Linked DNA regions of Homo sapiens: region 1 is linked to region 2. Evidence: promoter capture Hi-C in human tissues and cell types (Jung and others, 2019). All regions are on one chromosome and are shown on one strand. Each heading gives the region's core, a stretch centred on a gene start or on the middle of the fragment in contact. The rest is flanking DNA. Distances are from core to core; before and after follow the strand shown. Region 1 overlaps CLIP1 (CAP-Gly domain containing linker protein 1). Region 2 holds the start of HCAR1 (hydroxycarboxylic acid receptor 1).

What was found. Contacts are between HindIII fragments. The study calls those that stand out against the background at their distance.
Region 1: a contact is called between a fragment that was not itself captured here and the fragment with the promoter of HCAR1 in region 2, in 9 of the 25 tissues and cell types used here (IMR-90 fibroblasts, bladder, dorsolateral prefrontal cortex and 6 more).

The regions. Positions count from the first base shown.
Region 1 is chr12:122,322,912-122,329,897 of GRCh38, reverse strand. It overlaps CLIP1 (CAP-Gly domain containing linker protein 1), which reads left to right. Exons shown (of 26, transcript NM_001247997.2): 16 at 1,472-1,637; 17 at 1,736-1,951. It also overlaps the pseudogene CCDC150P1. Among named protein-coding and RNA genes, the nearest start is that of VPS33A, 60 kb to the right of the region's middle. The HindIII fragment of the contact is 8,257 bases long and covers 435-6,986 here.
Region 2 is chr12:122,727,462-122,733,965 of GRCh38, reverse strand. It overlaps HCAR1 (hydroxycarboxylic acid receptor 1), which reads left to right and starts at 3,122. Exons shown (of 1, transcript NM_032554.4): 1 at 3,122-6,504. The coding sequence starts at 3,627. The coding sequence ends at 4,667. RefSeq lists an enhancer at 3,693-4,360. The HindIII fragment of the contact is 12,382 bases long and covers 1-6,504 here.

The sequences.
Region 1 (6,986 bases), core at 3,314-5,813, 410 kb after region 2:
GATCCTCCCACCTCTGCCTCCCAAAGTGCAGGGATTACAGGCGTGAGCCAACGCACCCGGCCCCCCATGTTTTATATACATATTTTTGTTCAACCACATGGTCTCTTTAAAGTAGAACTTCAAGTTATTTATTGTCATTTTTGTATCTGCTGTCCTCCAGAAGCACTAGAGTGAATTTTTAGTAATCTAGTCTGCTAAAATTTTGAAACATTCATTTCCTTTATTTATTTATTTATTTATTTAAGTTAATTAATTAATTTTTTTTTTTGAGACAGAGTCTCGCTCTGTCGCCCAGGCTGGAGTGCAGTGGCGCGATCTCGGCTCACTGCAAGCTCCACCTCCCAGGTTCACGCCATTCTCTTGCCTCAGCCTCCAGAGTAGCTGGGACTACAGGTGCCCACCACCATGCCCGGCTAATTTTTTGTATTTTTATTAGAGAGAGGGTTTCACTGTGTTAGCCAGGATGGTCTTAATCTCCTAACCTCGTGATCCGCCCCCCCATCGGCCTCCCAAAGTGCTGGGATTATAGGTGTGAGCCACCGTGCCTGGCCTCCTTTATTTATTTTTAATTGAGGCAGAGTCTTGCTTTGTTGCCCAGGCTGGACTGCAGTGATGCGATCTTGGCTCACTGCAACCTCTGTCTACCCGACTCAAGCAGTTCTCCTGCCTCAGCCTCCTGAGTAGCTGGGATTGTAGGCATGCGCCACCACACCTGGCTAATTTTTGTATTTTTAGTAGAGACGGGGTTTCGCCATGTTGACCAGGCTGGTCTTGAACTCCTGAACTTAAATGATCTCATCTCAGCCTCCCAGGGTGCTGGGATCATAGGCATAAGCCACCACTGCCTGGTCTCGTTTCCTTTAATAAGTTTATTTTTCACTCATTTTTCCTTATTAATTTATTGACATAAAATAGTAAACCTTCCCAATTACAGTAGTTATTACTCTAAATAATGTATTTGTGACTATCATAACTGGTAAAATGATTATTTAGGCAAAGCATTTTAAAATTTCTTGTGCCCAGGCATGGTGGCTCACGCCTGTAATCCTAACACTTTGGGAGGCCGAGGCAGGCGAATCACGAGGCCAGGAGATCGAGACCATCCTGGCTAACACGGTGAAACCCTGTCTCTACTAAAAATACAAAAAAGTAGCCAGGCGTGCTGGCAGGTGCCTGTAGTCCCAGCTACTGGGGAGGCTGAGGCAGAATGGCATGAACCCGGGAGGCGGAGCTTGCAGTGAGCGGAGATCATGCCACTGCACTCCAGCCTGTGCGACAGAGCGAGACTCCGCCCCCCCAAAACAAAACAAAACAAAACAAAACAAAACAAAATTTCTTGCCTAGTTCTGATGTTATTAATTACACATAACTTTTGAAAATAATTACAATTATTAATAGTATATTTTAATATAACTTAAATTTAAAACATTCTTATGAAAAATCTGACACCTTATATTGAAACTTTTTCTAGAGATGTAGAAGAATTACAGCTAAAACTTACAAAGGCTAATGAAAATGCAAGTTTTCTGCAAAAAAGTATTGAGGACATGACTGTCAAAGCTGAACAGAGCCAGCAAGAAGCAGCTAAAAAGCATGAGGAAGAAAAGAAAGAATTGGAGAGGAAATTGTCGGACCTGGTAAGGAGATACTCAGTGGGCCTGTTGGCTGGCAAGGAAGGCAAGGGATAGTACACGCATGGGCAGATGACTCATTCCCTCATTCGGGGTCTCTGCAGGAAAAGAAAATGGAAACAAGCCACAACCAGTGTCAGGAGCTGAAAGCCAGGTATGAGAGAGCCACTTCTGAGACAAAAACCAAGCATGAAGAAATCCTACAGAACCTCCAGAAGACGCTGCTGGACACAGAGGACAAGCTGAAGGGCGCACGGGAGGAGAACAGTGGCTTGCTGCAGGAGCTGGAGGAGCTGAGAAAGCAAGCCGACAAAGCCAAAGTACGTGACGCGAGAGAATTTCCTTGTGTTGTAGCTTGCCTGAGCTCTGTGTCGAGGCAGGAAGGGTGCTTAGAAAGCAGCAGCCAGTGGGAAAAGTTAAGGTGGCCTCTACAGACGTTACCCTTCTGAGTGCGTGGCAGGGTGGTACATTACATTTCCTATGGCTTCAAGTGTTTTGTGCCAGCTGCTGTTCCTTCTCGGACGGTGTTTCCTGCCAGTCTTTCCTGGAATGGACTGTGTAGCCATCACCCCTGTGCTGCTTGTTTCCCAGAGGTCACAAAGGTTCTTTCGTTGCCTGAGCTCTGCTTGCCTGCTTGTTCCTCTAATCTTGGCCGTGCTTGTTGCTGCCTTGCACTAGGGTTTGGAGAGATGTTGCGATAAAGCAAGAGGCAGAGGTCACATGAAGTAAGCAAGCAAGGAATCAGGACTAGAGAGAGCCTGGTTGGAGGAACAGAGCTCTTCTAGGAAGAGTTAGAATTGAGAACTCCACAGAGGGCTTTATGTGTCCCCAGGAAGGTACTGTGAGCTTATTGACAAGGAAGCTGGATTCAAGGGCAGGGAGGAAACACCTTGTTAGTAGATAGAGCAGAATTTGATATGTTGGATTTCATTTTATGGTTTTAGGATTGTATCTGTGCCCAATATATATTTTTTCTTTTTTTTGTAGAGAATGGGGTCTTGCTGTGTTGCCCAGGCTGGTCTCAAACTCCTGGGCTCAAGCAGTCCTCCCATCTTGGCCTCTTAAAGTGTTGGGATTACAGGTGTGAGCCACCATGCCTGGCCTGCCCAGTACATTTTGTGACTCTGGTAACTTCACGAAGTTCAACCTTGCCCACTGTTTAACCTTCTATTGCTCAAAGGAAAGTAAATATTCACCTTTCTTTATTTTTAATGTGTTTATAGGAGTTTAGTAGAAAGAAATGATAAAAGAGCATATATAGGACTTGAAACCAATCTCATGAAAAGCCTCTTGCTAACTAAGTGGACATGACATGGTATGTGTGTGCCGTGCATGTCATCTGGGAGGCCCATATTCTCCCTCTTCTACATGCTGATAGTTGAGGATTTCTCTTCTTTCTGTGAAATACCTCCAGTTTTATGAGCCATTTAACACTAGATACAATTCCCAGATCTTTTGTCTTTGTGGTTTCCTTTATCTGTGCAGACTTCAGTTTTTTTTTTGTATTTCCTTTAAAATGTTTCAGCCTGAGCAAACCACAGCATCGCAGAAGCTGATGTAAGGTCTCCTCGGTTGTTGTTTGTTTTTTTGAGACAAGGTCTCACTCTGTCACCCAGGCTGAGTGCAGCGGCACAGTCATGGCTCACTGCAGCCTCAACCTCTCGGGCTCAAGTGATCCCCTTGCCTCAGCTTCCCAAGTAGCTGAGACTAAAAGCACGTGCCACTACACCTGGCTAATTTTTTATTTTTTGTAGAGACAGAGTCTCGCTATGTTGCTCAGGCTGGTCTCGAACCCCTGGATGCAAGCGATCCACCTGCTTCAGCTTCCCAAGGTGCTGGGATTGCAGGCGTGATTCATCGTTCCTGGCCAGTCTCACAAGGCGCTGGGGTTGCAGGCGTGAGCCACCATTCCTGGCCAGTCTCACAAGGCGCTGGGGTTGCAGGCGTGAGCCACCATTCCTGGCCAGTCTCACAAGGTGCTGGGATTGCAGGCATGAGCCACCATTCCTGGCCAGTCTCACTGATTTTGTTGGTTGGTTTTGTGCAAGAGTCATTGAGTTAAAAATGCCAGGACTGTTCCCCTCCAAACGTGTCTAGTATCTAATTTCAGTGGATCGTAATCAGTCCCAGACTCTTTGGAATAATCTAATGAAATCTACAGATATTTTTTCAGGAAAGTTTACGTGTGCACTCAACAAGGTTCCTGGAACCCATGAAGCCTCCTATTCCCTACTTTTAAGAGCCAGTGGGCTATAGCTGTGCTGCCTAATGTAGTAGCCACCAGCCATGTGAGGCCATTCAAATGTAAATTTGTAGCCAGTTCTGGTGGCTCACGCCTGTAATCCTAGCACTTTGGGAGGCCAAGGTGGGCAGATTGCCTGAGCACAGGAGTTTGAGACCACCCTGGACAACATCGTGAGACCGTCTCTACTACAAATACAAAAAATTAATTGGGTGTGGTGGCACACACCTGTAGTCCCAGCTACTCAGGAGGCTGAGGCAGGAGAATCCTTTGAGCCTGGGAGGCGGAGGCTGCAGTGAGCTGAGATGGTGCCACTGCACTCTGGCCTGGGTGACAGAGTGAGACTGTCTCAAAAAATAAATAAAAATAAAAACCTTAATATGGGAATATATGCGGTCTACATTATTTTCTCTATTTTTGTATATGCTTAAAAGAGGATCGCTTGAAACTGGGAGGCAGAGGTTGCAGTGAGCCGAGATCGCGCCACTTCCCTCCAGCCTGGGCCACAGAGTGAGACTCTGCCTCCAAAATAAATAAATAAATAAATAAATTTAAATTTGTTACATTTTAATTAAAAATTTAGCTCCTCAGTTGCACTCACCACATTTCAGGTGCTCAGTAGTCATATGGTCACCATGATGGGAGTGCAAATAAGAACATTTATATCAGCTGGGCGTGGTGGCTCATGCCTGTAATCCCAGCACTTCGGGAGGCCTAGGTGGGTGGATCACTTGGGGTCAGGAGTTTGAGACCAGCCTGGCCAACATGGTGAAACCCCGTCTCTACTAAAAATACAAAAATTAGCCGGGCACGGTGGCGGAGCCTTGTAATCCCAGCTACTTGGGAGGCTGAGGCATGAGAATAGCTTGAACCCAGAGGCGGAGGTTGCAGTGAGCCAAGATCGCACCATTGCACTCCAGCCTGGGCAATAGATAGAGCGAGACTCAGTCTCAAAAAAAAAAAAAAAAAATTATATCATTGCAGAAAGTTCTGGATAGCACTGGTATAGACACTGTGGTCAAATTATCTTATAATTCAGTAAATAAAAAAAAAAAACTATTCCTTTTAGTCAGCAAAGCCTAGAAATTAGGCTGTAGTTTTTAAGTTATATGTGATATTGGGACTAAATCACTCTCAGCCCCTCAGCTACCCTTAAGTAAGGTCCTGTGGTGAGTTTGGAAGGCAGTAGTTTATTTTCCCTTGTTATGCCCCTTCCTTTTTTCATTAAAATATACTGAGTTTTTGTACTTCTTTTAATTGTATTTTTAAAAATTGTTCTATGAATCCTTTCTGCTTTCAAAGTAATTTGATAATTGGAATGGCAGGAAAGAATCTTATGCCCTGATATTAAAATCAAGCTACTATTTTTATCTTCTAGGTAGCTACTGGGAATAATTTCACAAGTTGTTTCAAAGATAAAATAAGCTAACAGATACAGAAGCACTTTGCAAAACTACACTTTTGACTTACCTTTTTATGGGCTCTGTTTAGTTTCTTTCCCTTGTTATTCAGATAGTTTCTATAAAGTTTATTGTAGAAATTGTAAAGTTTTTATCATTTAGGTTACATTAAGTTATTTGGGCTTGCATTTGTCTGCTTGATTTCATTTTTGTTTCCATTCTTTCCATCTTTTGTTTCTGTAGTCGCTAACTTATTTGTTAACATCAGCCAAAAAAGAAATTGAACTAATGTCAGAAGAGCTGAGGGGTCTGAAATCAGAGAAGCAGCTTCTTTCTCAGGAGGGAAATGATTTAAAGTTAGAAAACGGTTCACTTTTATCCAAGCTTGTAGAATTGGAGGCCAAAATAGCTTTACTTCAGGGAGACCAGCAGAAACTGTGGTCAGTGAATGAAACTCTTAATTTAGAAAAGGAGAAATTCTTAGAAGAAAAGCAAGATGCCGAAAAGTATTATGAGCAGGAACATCTCAATAAAGAAGCTTTGGCTGTTGAGAGAGAGAAATTGCTTAAAGAAATCAATGTTGTACAGGAAGAACTCTTGAAGATAAATGTGGAAAATGACTCTTTGCAAGCTTCCAAGGTGAGCATGCAGGCACTCATTGAAGAGCTCCAGCTCAGCAAAGATACTTTGATTGCTAAGACTGAGAAGGACCAGGAAGAAAAAGATCACCTGGAGGACCAGATCAAGAAACTTATTACCGAAAACTTCATCTTGGCCAAAGATAAGGATGACATCATTCAGAAGCTTCAAAGGTCTTATGAGGAGCTAGTCAAAGATCAGAAAGCTTTGGTACAGGAGACTGAAGATCTCACAGCTGAGAAAAAGTCAGCTTTAGAGAAATTGTCCAATCTCGATAACACGTGCATAGCCTTAAAGGTAGAACGAGATAATGTTCTTCAGAACAACAGAAATCTGCAGTTAGAGACGGACATGCTGCTTCAAGATCAGGAAAAGCTGAATGCCAGCCTCCAGGCCGCTCTCCAGGTCAAACAGCTGCTCCGCTCAGAAGCCAGTGGGCTCCGCGCACAGCTGGATGATGCCAGCAAGGCCCTGAGGAAGGCAGAGCTGGAGACCGTGCAACTCGAGGCCGCAAACACAAGCCTCACGAAGCTCTTGGAGGAAATTAAGGCCAGGCGGGCGGTCACGGACTCCGAGTGCATCCAGCTTCTGCATGAGAAAGAAACCTTGGCTGCCTCCGAGAGAAGGCTCTTGGCTGAGAAAGAGGAACTTTTAAGTGAAAATAGAATAATCACTGAAAAACTCCACAAATGCTTAGAAGAGGCTGCCCATACTGAGATGAGCCTGAATGAGAAGATCACTTACCTGACTTCCGAGAAGGAGATGGCTTCTCAGAAAATGACTGAACTTAAAAAGCAGCAGGATAGTCTCTTGAAAGAAAAATCCTCACTGGAAACGCAAAATGGAGCTTTACTTGCAGAGAGAGAGAATTCCATCAAAGCCATAGGAGACCTCAAAAGGCAATGTGATCAAGAGTCTGCAAACAGAAGTTTAGTTGTGCAAGAGAATATGAAACTCCTCGGTAATATTGATGCTCTGAAGAAGGAGCTTCAAGAGAGAAAAAAGGAAAACCAAGAACTAGTGGCCAGCAAGTGCGACCTCTCTTTGATGCTGAAAGAGGCTCAAAATACCAAA
Region 2 (6,504 bases), core at 1,873-4,372:
ACAGAGCCAGACTCTGTCTCAAAACATACAAACCAAAAAAACCAGTAGACTTTCAGAGGAATAGATGCCATTTTTTTCTTCCTTAATCCTCTGCCTTACAGCTAATTCTACAGCCACAAAAAGAAAAAAAAAAAAGAGAGAGAAGAAGGTGATTTGACAAGACAAAGGATTTAGAAAAGAAAGGCAGGTGTTAGTCATGTGGAAAAAAAAGGAAGTATTTGTGTTTACAAGAATCCCGACAGTATCTGAGAATGTAGAATGAAGAATATTTTCCATTTGTTAAAAAATCCAGGCTAAGCATGTGAAGTACTCAGGGTTACCCCTCTGACCTCATCTTGGGGTGTTTCAACCTACCATGGTTACCCCTGTTAGTTAACACCTTATCACAGAATCACAAAGGCCCACAGAGTGAAAGTGGTTACAATGAGCTCTCATGAAAAGTAGGAGTTAGGCTTGGCATGGTGGCTTACACCTGTAATGTCAGCACATTTGAGAGGTCAAGGTGGGTGGATCACTTGAGCCCCGGAGTTTGAGACCTGGACAACATGGCAAAACCCCGTCTCTACAAAAAATACAAAAATTAGCTGGGCATGGTAGCATGCACCTGTAGTCCCAGCCACTCAGGAAGCTAAGGTAAGAGGATGGCTTGAGCCTGGGAGGTTGAGGCTACAGTGAGCCAAGACAGAGCCACTGCACTCCAGCCTGGACAACAGAGCCAGACTCTGTCTCAAAAAAAAAAGAAAGAGAGAGAGGGAGGGAGGCAGAGAGGGAGAGAGAGAGAGACAGAGAGAAAGAGAGAGAGAGAAAGAAAGAAAAGAAAGAAAGAAAGAAAGAAAGACGGAAGGAAAGAAAGAAGGAGAAAAGTAGGAGTTAGTCATCCAGGCCAAGAGTATGAAGTTTGTCTTCAAAGAACTCCTGAATTTGTGGGGGAACTAGATATAGACGTTTGACGAACACGTTTTTATTTATTAGAGGTTATGAGACTAGCGAGTAGGGTGGAAGGAGGAAAGTGGCAGGAAAATCATACTGGAAAGGTAGGTTGGGAACCAACTGTGAAGGACCTTGTACGTCAATCCAAGGAATGTGACCTTCAACCTAGAGCAAGAGGTGACAAACTCAAAATCCCACAGAGACTAGGCTTGCCAATGAGGAAAGCCAACCAGGTGTAAGGCAATAGGGAGTGGTGGGGACTGTGGCAAACAGTAAAGCTCATTCTCTGTCTACAGGGGCTCATTCTCTGTCTCTACTCCATCTACTCTAAGCTCCAGCTGATTGTTTCCATGTGGGAGTGTCGGTCCAGTGTGGCCAGATCTTCCAGTGTTCTAAGAGACAACAGAAATCCAGGTTTTTATAGGACTGCACCAGGTTTTAAAAACATATCGGCCAAGCCAGGCTGGTTTTTAAACCAGATATGGTCCACAGGCCATCATTCTAGCCCCTTGGCAGATTGAAGGGAGCTAGTGAAGATTTTTAAGTGAAAAAAGGTATATGATAATATCTGTGCTTCAGAAAAATCAGATTATTGTGTAGAAGATGACTTACAGGAAATAGATGAGAGGAAGGGAAACCAGTTAGGAAACTGTTTCAACAGTTCAGGTGGGAAGTGACTGCGGTCTGTGCTAGGGCGAGGCAGGGGAGAATGTGGGTGGACAGATTTGGAGTCCAGCATCCAGTGGGAAGAATTTAGCTTCAGTGTGCATCTAGAAGACAGACACATTCTTTCAATGCACCCCCTCTTTTCCGCCCCATTTTTTTTTTTTGAGACAGAGTTTCTTTCTGTCACCCAGGCTGGAGTTCATTGGCACGATCTCGGCTCACTGCAACCTCCACCTCCCGGGTTCAAGTGATTCTCCTGCCTCAGCCTCCTGAGTAACTGGGATTACAGACACATGCCACAACACCTGACTGATTTTTGTATATTTTTAGTAGAGATGGGGTTTCACCATGTTGGCAAGGCTGGTCTTGTACTCCTGACCTCAAGTCATCCACCTGCCTCGGCCTCCCAAAGTGCTGGGATTATAGATGTGAGCCACCGCGACTGGCCTCCACCCCATTTTCTTCTTTCTTTCTTTTTTCTTTTTCTTTTTCTTGTTGTTTTGTTTGTTTGTTTGTTTGTTTGTTTTAGACGGAGTCTGGTTCTGTCACCCAGACTGGAGTGCAGTGGCGCAATCTTGGCTCCCTGCAAGCTCTGCCTCCCGGGTTCACGCCATTCTCCTGCCTCAGCCTCCCGAGTAGCTGGGACTACAGGCGCCCGCCACCACGCCTGGCTCATTTTTTTGTATTTTTAGTAGAGACGGGGTTTTACCGTGTTAGCCAGGATGGTCTCCATCTCCTGACCTGGTGATCCGCCCGCCTGGGCCTACCAAAGTGCTTGGATTACAAGCGTGAGCCACCGCGCCCGGCCTCCACCCCATTTTCTAAACTGGAAGCTGAAAGGCACAGGGCAGATTAATAATCCTTAAAGCCAAAGGACAGGAAATTTTAGCAAAGACTCCAATTTTTTGTGCAGTCTAATGTTACTCATGATTGCTTTAGAGATGGACTCCTTAATCAACTCCTCCAATCCTCTTCCGCCCCCAGGGGGCAGTTTTAATTGATGGGCTCAGCACATAATTGAAATTAAAAACGTACATCTCATGGTGTTTGGCTCATTCAACAGCCAATGGAAACTCAGGGCCAAATCTTTGTAAAAGTTCTAGGCTCTGCTTCCCAGCAGAGGGGGAAACCGGCTCCCAAAGAGGCCGTTTTGTGGAGACAGACATATGAGAAGTGGGCTTCAGATCTATTTCATGGTCTTGGTGGTTGTGCAACTGGCCACTTTGGTTCACGGAAGGATGTAAAGGGCAGGGAGGTGGGAATAGAGCGGGGGAAAGGTGACTCCCGTCAAAGAATTTTTCTAACATCCATCAAGTATCGTGATTAGAACTTTTCTCTCCGCAGACTCCTCCAATTTTTGAGCGCGGTATTTTTCGGCACAGGAAATGGCCCGGAGGAGCTGCAGAGCAAAGCCTCCCCTCTCTGGCACCGCATGGGAGTGCCCCGTGGGATGAGGGAGAGGACAAGGCAGTCAGGCAAAGGTTACGGGAGGAAAGCAAAGGCAGGAGCCCAGAACCACTCCAGGAAATGTTTGGATTTCTCCACCAGGAGGGAGGACAAACAAGCTTTCTTCTTGCCTTCTGGGCAGCTTTGTGTGCTCTCCAGCACGGAGTCCGAGGAGGAACAGCGAAGCTGAAAATGAAAATTACTCTGGCGCTGGACCCAATCGCTCCTCTACGGCATCAATCTCATCGGACCCCCCCACCCTACCGCCTCTCAGAAATGACCACTTTTGCAAAATTGCATGCATTTCCAAGCTTCATCCGGCTCCAGGCTTGGCCTCTCCCAGAGGCAGGCGGCTTGTGAGACGGGCTCCAGAGAAAGGACCTCCCTGGGTCTCTCATTTCCTGGCTGAAGTTTCTCTTCTCGCTGCTGTGGCAGCATCCAACCCACACACACAGGACCCGCATCCTGGGTGATGAAGTCAGACACGCAGCAGCTGGGTGAGTGCTAACGCTCAGATAAGCATCTGTGCCATTGTGGGGACTCCCTGGGCTGCTCTGCACCCGGACACTTGCTCTGTCCCCGCCATGTACAACGGGTCGTGCTGCCGCATCGAGGGGGACACCATCTCCCAGGTGATGCCGCCGCTGCTCATTGTGGCCTTTGTGCTGGGCGCACTAGGCAATGGGGTCGCCCTGTGTGGTTTCTGCTTCCACATGAAGACCTGGAAGCCCAGCACTGTTTACCTTTTCAATTTGGCCGTGGCTGATTTCCTCCTTATGATCTGCCTGCCTTTTCGGACAGACTATTACCTCAGACGTAGACACTGGGCTTTTGGGGACATTCCCTGCCGAGTGGGGCTCTTCACGTTGGCCATGAACAGGGCCGGGAGCATCGTGTTCCTTACGGTGGTGGCTGCGGACAGGTATTTCAAAGTGGTCCACCCCCACCACGCGGTGAACACTATCTCCACCCGGGTGGCGGCTGGCATCGTCTGCACCCTGTGGGCCCTGGTCATCCTGGGAACAGTGTATCTTTTGCTGGAGAACCATCTCTGCGTGCAAGAGACGGCCGTCTCCTGTGAGAGCTTCATCATGGAGTCGGCCAATGGCTGGCATGACATCATGTTCCAGCTGGAGTTCTTTATGCCCCTCGGCATCATCTTATTTTGCTCCTTCAAGATTGTTTGGAGCCTGAGGCGGAGGCAGCAGCTGGCCAGACAGGCTCGGATGAAGAAGGCGACCCGGTTCATCATGGTGGTGGCAATTGTGTTCATCACATGCTACCTGCCCAGCGTGTCTGCTAGACTCTATTTCCTCTGGACGGTGCCCTCGAGTGCCTGCGATCCCTCTGTCCATGGGGCCCTGCACATAACCCTCAGCTTCACCTACATGAACAGCATGCTGGATCCCCTGGTGTATTATTTTTCAAGCCCCTCCTTTCCCAAATTCTACAACAAGCTCAAAATCTGCAGTCTGAAACCCAAGCAGCCAGGACACTCAAAAACACAAAGGCCGGAAGAGATGCCAATTTCGAACCTCGGTCGCAGGAGTTGCATCAGTGTGGCAAATAGTTTCCAAAGCCAGTCTGATGGGCAATGGGATCCCCACATTGTTGAGTGGCACTGAACAAGCAGACCAACAACACTGAGGAAGATAGAGTGGTGACTTAGAATTAACTCGTGCTAAGGGGTCGGGGGCTTTGAAAATGCCACCCCCCTTTCTTATTGCAAGACGGCTTCTCGCACATGAACTGCATCCTTCTCATTCTGTCGGAAATGAAATTCACACAACTATACCTTTTGGGGAGGTTCCAGTTGATTGAAGTGAGTTGGCTGCATTTTCTTATCTGATCACAATGGCAGGGGACAGAATGTGCATGGAGTGGAGCATGTGTGTGTTGGGAGGGGGGCTAGGAACTGCACAGCCCTTGTGTAATTTTCGTTGTTTGTTTTTGTTTTGAGACAGAGTCTCACTCTGTGTCCCAGGCTGGAGTGCAGTGGCACAGTCTCGGCTCACTGCAACCTCTGCCTCCCGGGTTCAAGCAATTCTCCTGCCTCAGCCTCCCGAGTAGCTGGGATTAGAGGCGCCAGCCAACACACCCGGCTAATTTTTGTATTTTTAGTAGAGACAGGGTTTTGCCATGTTGGCCAGGCTGGTCTCGAGCTCCTGACCTCAGGTGATCCGCCTGCCTTGGCCTCCCAAAGTGGTGGGATCACAGGCGTGAGCCACCGTGCCTGGCCTCCCCTGTGTCATTTTAAATGGCTAAGTAAATGGGTATATGTGTTTGAATGGGGCATGTTCACTCTCTTAGGGGCTATGGGGCAGTTAGCAGCATTTCCTATCCTCTGACCTTAAATCATTCCTTATCTCAGAAAACAGAAACCGGGCTCAGTCAATCAATGCTTTATTTCAGGCCGAATGAGGCTCTTTAGATTGGGATCTATTGATCTATCAATTTTCATCTTTACATTTCTTTGTACATCTGTACATTTTGTCCAAATGTACATCTGTACGTCTGTCATCATTGTGACTTCCTGGTAGCCCAAGAAGAACAACAACAAAACAATCTGCTCTGACCTTCTTCAAATCTTTGTATTTCAAAGAAGGTGCTGAGGGATCTGTTTCCTTGCCCTGGCTTCTCCAGTGGGATGTGCTGAGTCCAATACAATTGCTTTTATAATTGCTTTTGACAACTTGTCATGTGACTGTGAATTGAAATTATTCACTTATTTTCCAAGTATTTACTGAATTCGTATTTGGTGGCAGGCAGTATACTGTGTAATTTTTAGTGGAGGGTCATTAGTCAACTCTTATGTGACAGTAAAGTTTTTTGGGGGGGTGGGGACAGAGAAGTTAAGAGCTTTCATCCTTTCACGGAATACAGTTTCTAGACCGATTCTGTGTGAACATCAGTTTTGTCCTCTTATTGCAAGACTCCCTCATACACATGAGTTTCCCAAATGTGTACCTGGACCCCTCGAAACAGAGGACTCTACGAAATGACAAGCTGCCCCTGCCCTGAATTAGGGGGAAACATTCCAGGCCAACTCTAGCTCCTTTCTCAAGCTACAAAGTGGTGAACATGGTTCTCAACTCCTTAATTTATACTCTCTCAAATGCCCAGGATACTCTACCCACTTAAGAACCTTGCCAACTTCTGGGGGTTGGGCATGGTGGCTCACGCTTGTGATCCCAGCACTTTGGGAGACTGAGGCGGATCACCTGAGGTCAGGAGTTCTAGACCAGCCTGACCAACATGGAGAAACCTCGTCTCTACTAAAAATTCAAAATTAGCCTGGTGTGGTGGCGCATGCCTATAATCCCAGCTATTCGGGAGGCTGAGGCAGGAGAATCACTTGAACCGAGGAGGTGGAGGTTGCGGTGAGGTGACATCGTGCCATTGCACTCCAGACTGGGCCACAGGAGTGAAACGCCGTCTCAAAAAAAAAAAAGAACTTTGCCA